Linked DNA regions of Homo sapiens: all the other regions are linked to region 1. The links are contacts of gene promoters, found by promoter capture Hi-C in blood cells and fetal thymus (Javierre and others, 2016). All regions are on one chromosome and are shown on one strand. The core of a region is centred on a gene start or on the middle of the fragment in contact, and the rest is flanking DNA. Distances in the headings are between cores, read along the strand shown. Region 1 holds the start of GCNA (germ cell nuclear acidic peptidase). Region 2 overlaps TAF1 (TATA-box binding protein associated factor 1). Region 3 has its middle 54 kb from the start of OGT.

Region 1 (3,312 bases), core at 427-2,926:
CAACCTCTCCCCCTTCCCCTACCTCTTTACTCCCCACTCTGTCAATCTTACCCAGAATAGGCTACCACCGCCCCCTCATCACCTTCTTCCTTCTGTCCAACCTCCACTGCCCCCTTACCTCCCGCCACTCTGGCTTCTCACTGGTCTTATATGAATCCGGCCACCCCCTCCACGCTTCCTATTCCTGCCTCCAGCCTCTAGCCAATCTTCGACCAAACAGGCCTTGACCCCTCCCCAACTCCTTCCTCCTATCAGGTCTGGACCCTACCCCCACCATTCTCACCTCAGTCTTCCACCAATCAGGCCTCAACCCCACCACCCTTCCCCCACACTCGCACCTCCAACCACCTCCAGCCACCTTCAACTGCTCCCAACCGGTTTTCCAAGCAGGCTTCCACTCCCCCACACTTCTATCCAACTTCTGCCCTACCCCACTCCTGTCTCCCACCACCACTCAGTCCTCAGCCAAAGAGACCTCAACCCCCACACACACACCCCTACCCACAACCACTAGCTCCCACCTCCCCCCAATGCTGCAACGGGCACCCCCACTTCTCCCCACAGCCACTGGCACCCCCACCTCCAATGCCACCACCAGCATCCTCACTTCTCCCCACGCCCACCAGCACCACCACGTGCTCCTAGGCCACTTCCACCACCACCAAGTGTTCCTACGCCGCCACCAGAACCCCCCACTTCCCTCAACGCCCCCATTGGCACCCCCACCTTCAATGCGGCCACCGGCGCCTCCACTTCTCCCCACACCGCCAGCGCTACTATGTGCTCCTATGCCACCAACGCCACCAAGTACTCCTAGGCCGCAACTGGCACCCCCACCTCCCCCCACGCTGCCACTGGCATCCCTACTTCTCCCCACCCGCCACTAGGGACACCACCTGTTCCTACACCACCACTGGGGCCCCCACCTCCCCCCAGTGCCGCAACCAGCGCCCTCACTTCTCCCCGCGCCGCCACCGGCGCCACGTATTCCTACATAGCCACTGGCGCCACCACACGCTCCTACGCCACCACCAGCGCTCCCACTTCCCCCAAGGCCGCCAATGGTGCCCCTACTTCTCCCCACACCGTCACTGGTGCTACCACATGCTCCTACACCACCACCAGCACCCCCACTTCCCCGACACTGCCACAGGCACCCCCACTTCCCCCAACGCCGCCACTGGTGCCCCTACTTCTCTCCACCCGCCACTGGCACCAACACCTCCTTCTACGCCACCACCAGGCCCCCCACTATCTGCAATGACGCCACCAGCGCCCCTTCTCCCCACGCCGCCACTGGCACTACCAGCTGCTCCTACGCCGCCACCGGCGCCCCCACCCCTCCCAATGCCGCCACTGGCGCCACCATATGTTTCCTACACCACCATGGGCGCCCCCACCTCCCCCAATGCTACCACTGGCGCCTCCACTTCTCCCCTCGCTGCCACTTCCTCTACTCCCACCTCAGGCCTACACGGGCAACCAGAGTCCAAGGTATACAGTGGTCCTGATTTTAATTAAGTCACTCAATTAGGATTAACCTCTGGACCACTTCAGCACCCATCTCAGTCCGACCAGCCGGTCACCTACCTGGTGTTGCAGCCTCTGGCGTGGCCGGCAGCAGCTCACCTCCAACTGCCCGTGGAGTGTGTGCAAAGATCCGGAGCAACTGCGATGAACAACGCCAGGCGCAGGCCCCTTTATAGTGCCCGGACCTAGGGGGCGGTAGCAGTAATTCACGTGTGCTCGCCCGCGCTCCCCTGTACCCACCTATCACAGTGGTCACAAGACAAATTTGAACTTCGCGCCTGTGAACTTGGCGCCTAGCTGTAACGCTTCCGGGATCAGGTCTGTCGCTTTCCACTCCCACGGATGTTGCTTATTTGTCCCAAAACCGCCATTTCAATACTAGAGCGTGGGCACCCGAGGCCAATTCTGCGATTAAAAGTCCCTAACAACTTTCTGATAAAGAGAAACCATGTGAAATCGTTCATAACAAACTTTTATCCTGCGAGAACTTGGATAAGCGAGCCTTGTTCCTTACTTGAATTGTCCAGACCTCTAAGTCCGTTATTGCAACCACTGGGAAAGGGCGCGGGGGGAGGGGCGGGGGCACGAGAACTGGAGCGAAGGCGCGGGAGCAGGGGCGTGGACGGGAACACCGAGGGGAGGGCGGGGCGCGGGGGGACGCGGGAGCGCAGGGGGGCGGGGGTTGCAGGGAAGGCCATCTAGACCCCTAGATAAGAGCAAGGCAGCAACTCAACAGCGCCTGGCAACGGCGAACTATGATGTTTACTTCCAGAACCCTCCAAACCCTGGAGATAAAAAAAGGTTACTTGAGGCTTTTTGGCACTCACTCCATACACACCAAGAAAAACAAACGGGGAAAACAGCGCTTTCTAGATTGTGCCAGTTTCTCCAGCGAGCATCTATATATTTCGTAATGTATGCCTTTGGGTAACAGAACACACATAAAATGTCCCTGCGTTTGATACTATTTTGTGCTAAGCATTATTCCAAGTGTCTTACGACTTAATTCATACAACACTTTAAAAAGTAGGCAACTGTTAGCACTCTCATTTTAGAGATCACACAGCTAGAAAGTGGCAGAGCTGGCCGGGCACAGTGGCTCACGCCTGTAACCCCAGCACTTTGGGAGGCTGAGGCGGGTGGATCACGAAGTCAGGAGCTTGAGACCAGCCTGGTCAACATGGTGAAACCCCGTCTCTACTAAAGATAAAAAAAAAAAAATAGCCGCGTGTGGTGGCCCGCGCCTGTAATCCCAGCTACTCGGGAGGCTGAGGCAGGAGAATCGCTGGAACCTGGGAGGCGGAGGTTGCAGTGAGCCGAGATCGTGCCATTGCACTCCAGCATGGGGACAGGGCGAGACTCCATCTCAAAAAAAAAAAAAAAAGTGGCAGAGCTGAGATTCAAACTCCAACTCTAGTTCCAAAACCTGCTCTTAAGCACCAGATTGCCTACCTAAATACAGATACTTTCTCAGTTGATAAAAAAATTGGATAAAGGGGGCTGATTACTCTCTCTCTCTACAATGAAGTTGCAAATTAACCTCTACAAGCCTCTTTATAAGAATGGGGATTACATAACTGTGCCTCAGAGGCTTGGGCAAAGAACCAGGATGTTAGCTATAATTGAGAGGCATATGCTTCAAGTAAAAGAATGGGATAGGTTTGGAATCAAATCTTAAAATGGGCAGTTCAGAAATTACACACATTTACTCAAGGTGTGCAAGCAACTCCTTTAGATTGAAGGCAGGAGGAGCTGAAGTAGACTGGAAATAATGTAGATTTT
Region 2 (3,312 bases), core at 717-3,216, 120 kb after region 1:
TTTACTTACTACTTTTAAAAAGGCTAAGGTGTTAGTTAATTTCATGATTTCAGGATCAGATACTGTACAAATATGAACAAATTGGGGAAAGGTGAACCACCTAGGCTGGAGAACAGGGAAGGCTGACCAAGGAGGCCCAAAGGAAGCCTCATTCATCAGAGTCCAAGTCACTGTCCCCAGCAATGGAGTGGAAATCCTCACTGTCCTCCTCGTCCTCTGACAGGTGGACCTGGCTTAGTACGCTCGGCCCAGAGCGCTGCTCTTCCTCCTCCTCATCTTCTTCCTCCTCTGATACCTCATACCCACCGATGCTGCTGAAGCTTGTGTCTTGGGTGTTCGACTTGGGATCAGGCTCCTCATAGCTCCCATAACTGAGAAGAGAAACATGTCATCTCTCAAGCTCGGACACCATCCTCTACCTGACCATTCCCATTCTCAGTGCCACCAAAGGATCAGCCCATCTCACCTCCCCTGGACACTAAAGTGACTGGTTCTGGACTATTCTACATGTCCCTGAGAGAAAAATGACCCTGTTCAAAAACATCAACTTGCCAACGTCATATACACAAGAACCTGAATGGAAGAAACTCCCTTACACCTGAACAACACACTGCCATCTTACATGACCATAAATGCTCTGACAGCCTCATGGTTTCATCTACCACTTACAGTATCCAATTAGTCAATAGTCCTGAAGATTCTCTCTTCAATATATCTTGTCTCTATCCCCTCCTTTCCATCCCTACTCTGCCTACCTTGGCTTAGTCCTTTGTTATCTCTGGCCTGCACTACTGAAATAAGTCGTCATGCCGCCAGTCTTGCTCTCCTCCAATTACTTCTTCACACTTCTGCCAGAGTGCTCTTTATTTTTTTGTTTGTTTGTTTATTCTTAATTTTACTTGAAAAAAAAATCACACAAGTAATGCACGTTCACTGGTTAAAAAAATTAGAATATACACCAGAAAAAAATTTAAAAAAATCAATAACTCCATCATCCAGAGATAATCTTTTGGTATATTACCTTCCAAAATTTTTTGTGAACTTTAGATGCTTAAACATTTTTTTTAATTTACAAAATTGGGATACTCTACATACTCTCCAGGAAATCTGCCCTCTTCACTAATGATTATAATGAACATCTTTCCATGTCAATAAACATAACGTCTATAGCATAATTTTAATAGCTACATGGTATTCCACACATGGCTGTAACATGACTTAACAGTCTCTCACTAGGACATTTAAGCTGTCTCCAATTATTCCACTATTAGAAACAATGCTGTCATAAAACATCCTTACACAAACATCTTGATGGTGTGTTAATTATTCCCATAAAATAATTTCCTAGATGTGGATTTTTTGGGCCAAAGGGGATGCACGTTTTTAAATGTTTTTATTTATGATGATAAATAAATAAGCCTCTCTCCAAACCACCCCATTTCTATCAATCGACATTACCACCAGTAGTTTGAGAATGTCTTTTTCCTCATAGCCTTTCCAAACACTAGGCATTATCATTCACTTTAATCACCAATATGATAGGTAAAAAAATTGCACTTCGTGGTTTTACTGCGTTTATTAGGGGAGTTACTATTATTGTTGTTATTATTTTTATTATCATTTTGAGACTGAGTCTTGCTCTGTCACCAGGCTGGAGTACAGTGGCACGATCTCGGCTCACTGCAACCTCTGCCTCCTGGGTTCAAGCGATTCTCCTGCCTCAGCCTCCTGAGTAGCTGGGACTACAGGTGTGACCAGGCCCAGCTAATTTTTGTATTTTTAGTAGAGACAGGGTTTCACCATGTTGGCCAGGATGGTCTAGATCTCTTGACCTTGTGATCTGCCTGCCTCGGCCTCCCAAAGTGCTGGGATTTTAGGCATGAGCCACCGCGCCCGGCTGGAAGTTATTTTTTCATATGATATATTGGCCATTTACATTTCTTTTGTAAATTAGTTCATGCCTTTGCCCATTTTTCTTTTGGGGCACAGGACAATCTTTCTAAAATGTAAATCTGGTCATACTATTCTCATTCAATGACCGCCCAGAACTTTCAGGCCCTTCATGATTTGGTATTTACCTACCTCTTTAAGTCATTTCTATCACATGAATTATAGATCTTACATGGATCAATCAAAAAATCTCCAGTCACACTGAGCTACGTGTGTTCTCTGAAAGCGTTTCATGCCTGTGAAGTGTTTCATGCCTGTGTCTTCATATAGGCTCTTCCTAGTCTCTGGAATGCCCATTGCTTTCTTATTCGTTTAGCTAATTCCTATTCATATTAGGCTCAATTTCCTTCTCTAGCCAGCTCTCCTCCCTCCCCACCTCTACCCAAGTCCTAGAAAAACCCTGCGGTTGCCTAGCATAGCACTTTTCATATTACACTATGATTGCCTGTTTTACCTGTTTTAGGTTTCCTACTAGACTGATCTCCTTGAAGGAAGGGACCATATCTTAGTTGTTTTTGTACTTATGATAAATATTTGCTGAAGTAAAAAATTAATTTGTTTACAATGTTATTGCATATTATCTGCTTGCTGGTTAGATGTATCATAGATACATTAAATTTAACTTGTCCAAAGCCAAATCCAAATCCATTTTTTCCTCCTTTCCTGCCCCATCTAATATGTATTCTTCCTCTTTCCTCTACCAGACATCTCCATTCATTATTCATCTAACCTCCTTACCTCTTTATGTCCCTTTATTTTCCCCACTCCTGACAAGTCCCTGTTGATATCCTCATCATGTGTCCCACATTGTCCTAAGTTATACAAATTTGATGTTACTTCCTTTTCCTTAAACTGATGACTCCTATTACCCGCAGGTTAAGGTCCAAAGGTCTTAGCATGCCTTTTAAAGTCCTTCACAATATAATCCCCCTTGCTACACTTCTGGAGCCTCAACTCCCCAACAACTTCCATTTGCTCTGGAACATACTTTGTGTTCTACTTCTGTGTCTTTGAACACATTGTTCCACCTATAAAGTTCTCCCCACCCCCTGCCATAGTACCTACTTAGTAAACTCCTATTAATCTTTTAAGGCCCAATTCAAATGTTCCCTTGTCTGTGAAACTTTCCCTGATAACTCCAAGCAGACTGAGACACTCCCTTCTCAGTGGTGCTTTGGCACTTTGTCTTACTTACGCTATAGCACTTATCACATTGTATTTGTAATGATTTGTTTGTGTCAGTCTTTTCCACTAGGCTGTGGGCTCCTCAAGGGCAGGATATGTTTTGCTCCTCTGTGTATCCCCAGAGCCTAGCACAGTGCCTGGCCCTAGTAGGTGCCCAGGAAATGTTTGATGGATGAA
Region 3 (3,312 bases), core at 341-2,840, 99 kb after region 1:
TTCTTTATAGTACTTATCACCACCTCACAGATATTTATTGCCTCTCTCCACCTCCATGAAAGGACTTTTGTTCAATGCTGTATTTCCAGCACTTAGATTAATCTTGGTACGTAGTATTCACTTAATAAATATTTATTGAATGAATATATGAATTATTTCTGGCTTTTAGAAGAATGGGTAACTACATAATTGAATAAATATATCTCTGTACCCCAAGGCCCAGCATACTACCGGGTACATAGTGGGAATTCAATAAATGTTTGTTGAATGAATCAAGGCTGTAAACATGCTCATAAGTCTTTCTCTTTTTTTAAGAGACAGGATCCATGGTGGGGTGCAGTGGTGCGATCATAGCCCACTGCAACCTCAAACTCCTGGGCTCAAGGGATCCTCTTGCCTCAGCCTCCCGAGTAGCTGGGACTACAGGTATATGCCACCATGTCTGGCTAGTTTTGTTTTTGGTTTTGTTTTTTGAGACAGTCTCAGTCTGTTGCCCAGGCTGGAGTGCAGTGATACAGTCATGGTTCACTGCAGCCTCAAACTCCTGGGCTCAAGTGATCCTCCCACATCAGCCTCCCAAGTAGCTAGGACTGCAGGTGCACACCACCATGCCCAGATAATTTTTTGATTTTTCACAGAGACATGGTCTCGCTATGTTGCCCAGGCTGGTCTAAAATTCCTGGGCTCAAGAGATCCTCCCACCTGGGCCTCCCAAAGTGCTGGGATTACAGGCATGAGCCACCACAGCCGGCCTCATAGGTCTTTTAAAAATTTTCTGGTTATCCCATTTCTCCCTTTAGCTATTACTATCATTCTCCTTCCCCTGATAGCCTAGCTGCTTTCTCACCTTCCAGTCACTTTTTTTTCAGCTTAAAAACTTTTATGAAATATATCACAAATACAAAAGTATATCTGACATTTATGGTAGATAAAAATCTCATATATAATTTAAAGAATAAGAAAATGAACATCTAAGTGCCCACCAATCAGCTTACAAACCAGAACATTACCAGAGCCTCTGAAGCTCTCTGGATACCCTTCTGAATTGCATTCCTTTCCTTCCCTGCAAGATATAACTGCTATTAGGAATTGTACTTTTTTTTCTTTTTGTTTATTTATTTTTTGAGACAGAGTCTCACTCCATCACCCAGACTGGAGTGGAGTGGCGTGATCTCAGTTCACTGCAACCTCCACCTCCCGGGTTCAAGAGATTCTCCTGTCTCAGCCTCCCAAGTAGCTAGGACTGCAGGCATGCGCCACCACGCCCGGCTAATTTTTGTATTTTTAGTAGCAATTGGGCTTTGCCATATTGCCCAGGCTGATCTTGAACTCCTGGCCTCAAGTGATCCTCCTGCCTTGGCCTTCCAAAGTGCTGGGATTACAGGCATGAGCCATCATGTCTGGCCAGTAATTATACTTTTCTTTATGGCTTTCTCACCCGTGTTTTTGAACCTTATATACATAGAATCATATCATATGAATTTTTCTGAACTTTCCTTCCACATTATGTTCGTGGGACTCATCTATGTTGATATTTGTATCTGTAGGTATTTTTACCAATGTATAGTTTTCCCTTTTATAATAATACCATAATTTACTAAACCATTCTCTTATTGAAGAACATTTGAGCTATTTTCAACTTTTTGCTATAAAGATCAGTGCAGCTATTAACACTCTTGAATTCTTGTACATGTCTTCTGGTACGGTGGTGCAAGAATTTTTCTAGCATATATACCTAGGGGTAGAATTGCTGATTAAGTCAGCTAGGTGCAGTGGCTCACGCCTGTAATCCCAGCACTTTGGGAGGCCAAGGCGGGCGGATCACCTGAGGTCAGGAGTTCAAGACCAGCCTGGCCAACATTTTCACGTTTATTGGCTATTCCTGTTTTCTCTTCTGTGAAATGCTGCTTTATGTTTTTTGGTCAGTTTTCATTGGATGGCTTGTCTTTTTCTTACCGATATATTGTCTTACATATTTTTTTTCAGAATTTAAAAAGAATTTTTGCTAAAGATAGACCTCCCTATGTTACCCAGTCTGGTCTCAAACTCGTGGACTCAAGCAATCCTCCCATCTCTGCCTGTCAAAGTTCTGGGATGCTGAGATTACAGGTGTGAGCCATCGCACTTGGCCAGGATTCTCTTGTTTTTGTTTGTTTGTTTGTTTGTTTGTTTGAGACAAGGTCTTGCTCTATCACCTAGGCTGGAGGAGTGCAGTGGTATGATCATAGCTCACTGCAGCCTCGAACTCCTGGGCTCAAGTGATCCTCCTACCTCGGCCCCCAAAGCATTGAGATTACAGGCATGAGCCACCGCAGTTGGCCAGGATAGTTATTCTTTTTTTGAGAAGGGGGTTCACTCTTGTTGCCCAGGCTGGAGTGCAGTGGCGTGATCTTGGCTCACTGCAACCTCCACCTCCCGAATTCAAGCAATTCTCCTGCCTCAGCCTCCCAAGTAGCTGGGATTACAGGCACCCACCACCACGCCCAGCTAATTTTTTTGTATTTTTTGTAGAGATAGGGTTTCACCATGTTGGCTGGGCTAGTCTCGAACTCCTGACCTCAGGTGATCTGCCGGCCTCAGCCACCATGCCTGGCCCAGGATAGTTATTCTTTATCAGTTATATGAATTGGAAACATCTTCTGCCAGCCCATCACCTTTTAAAATGATGTCTTATGATGAACAAAAGTTTATTTATTTATTTAGAAACAGAGTCTTGCTCTATCACCCAGGCTGGAGGGCAATGGTGTGATCTCGGCTCACTGCAGCCTTTGCCTCCTGCGCTCAAGTGAGTCTCCTGCCTTAGCCTCCCGAGAAGCTGGGATTACATGTATGTGCTACCATGCCCAGCTAATTTTTGTATTTTTAGTAGAGATGGGGTTTCACCATGTTGGTCAGGCTGGTCTCGAACTCCTGACCTCGAGTGATCCACCTGCCTCGGCCTCCCAAAGTGCTGGAATTACAGGCGTATGCCACCGTGCCCGGCTTCAAAAGTTTATATTTTTTAACACAGTTAAATGCATCCAAATTTTATTTTATGATTTGCCCTTTATGTTATTGTCTAAGAAATCCTTTTGTATACCAAGGCTATAGAAATATTCTTAGTGGGCACAGTGACTCACACCTATGATCCCAGCACTTAGCACTTTGGAAGGCTGAGGTAGGAGCATCGATTGAGGCCAGGAGTTTGGGACTGGCCTAGGCAACATAGTGAGACCCTGTCTCCATAAAAAGTACAAAAATTAGCCAGGCAGGTGTCATGTGCCTGTAGACCCAGCTATTCAGGAGGCTGAGATGGGAGGATCAATTGGGCCC

What was found. Contacts are between HindIII fragments. The CHiCAGO score rates a contact against its expected background, and 5 or more counts as called.
Region 2: a fragment that was not itself captured here is called in contact with the fragment with the promoter of GCNA in region 1 in 9 of 17 cell types (activated CD4 T cells, non-activated CD4 T cells, total CD8 T cells and 6 more); the score reaches 8.5 in activated CD4 T cells.
Region 3: a fragment that was not itself captured here is called in contact with the fragment with the promoter of GCNA in region 1 in 2 of 17 cell types (activated CD4 T cells and naive CD8 T cells); the score reaches 7.1 in activated CD4 T cells.

The regions. Positions count from the first base shown.
Region 1 is chrX:71,576,801-71,580,112 of GRCh38, reverse strand. It overlaps GCNA (germ cell nuclear acidic peptidase), which reads right to left and starts at 1,676. Exons shown (of 13, transcript NM_052957.5): 1 at 1,591-1,676. RefSeq lists an enhancer at 828-1,469. The HindIII fragment of the contact is 6,206 bases long and covers 1-3,312 here.
Region 2 is chrX:71,460,883-71,464,194 of GRCh38, reverse strand. TAF1 (TATA-box binding protein associated factor 1) reads right to left here. Exons shown (of 38, transcript NM_004606.5): 38 at 1-371. The coding sequence ends at 149. Among named protein-coding and RNA genes, the nearest start is that of OGT, 71 kb to the left of the region's middle. The HindIII fragment of the contact is 3,288 bases long and covers 323-3,312 here.
Region 3 is chrX:71,477,384-71,480,695 of GRCh38, reverse strand. It overlaps a transcript of TAF1 not described here. Among named protein-coding and RNA genes, the nearest start is that of OGT, 54 kb to the left of the region's middle. The HindIII fragment of the contact is 6,178 bases long and covers 1-3,312 here.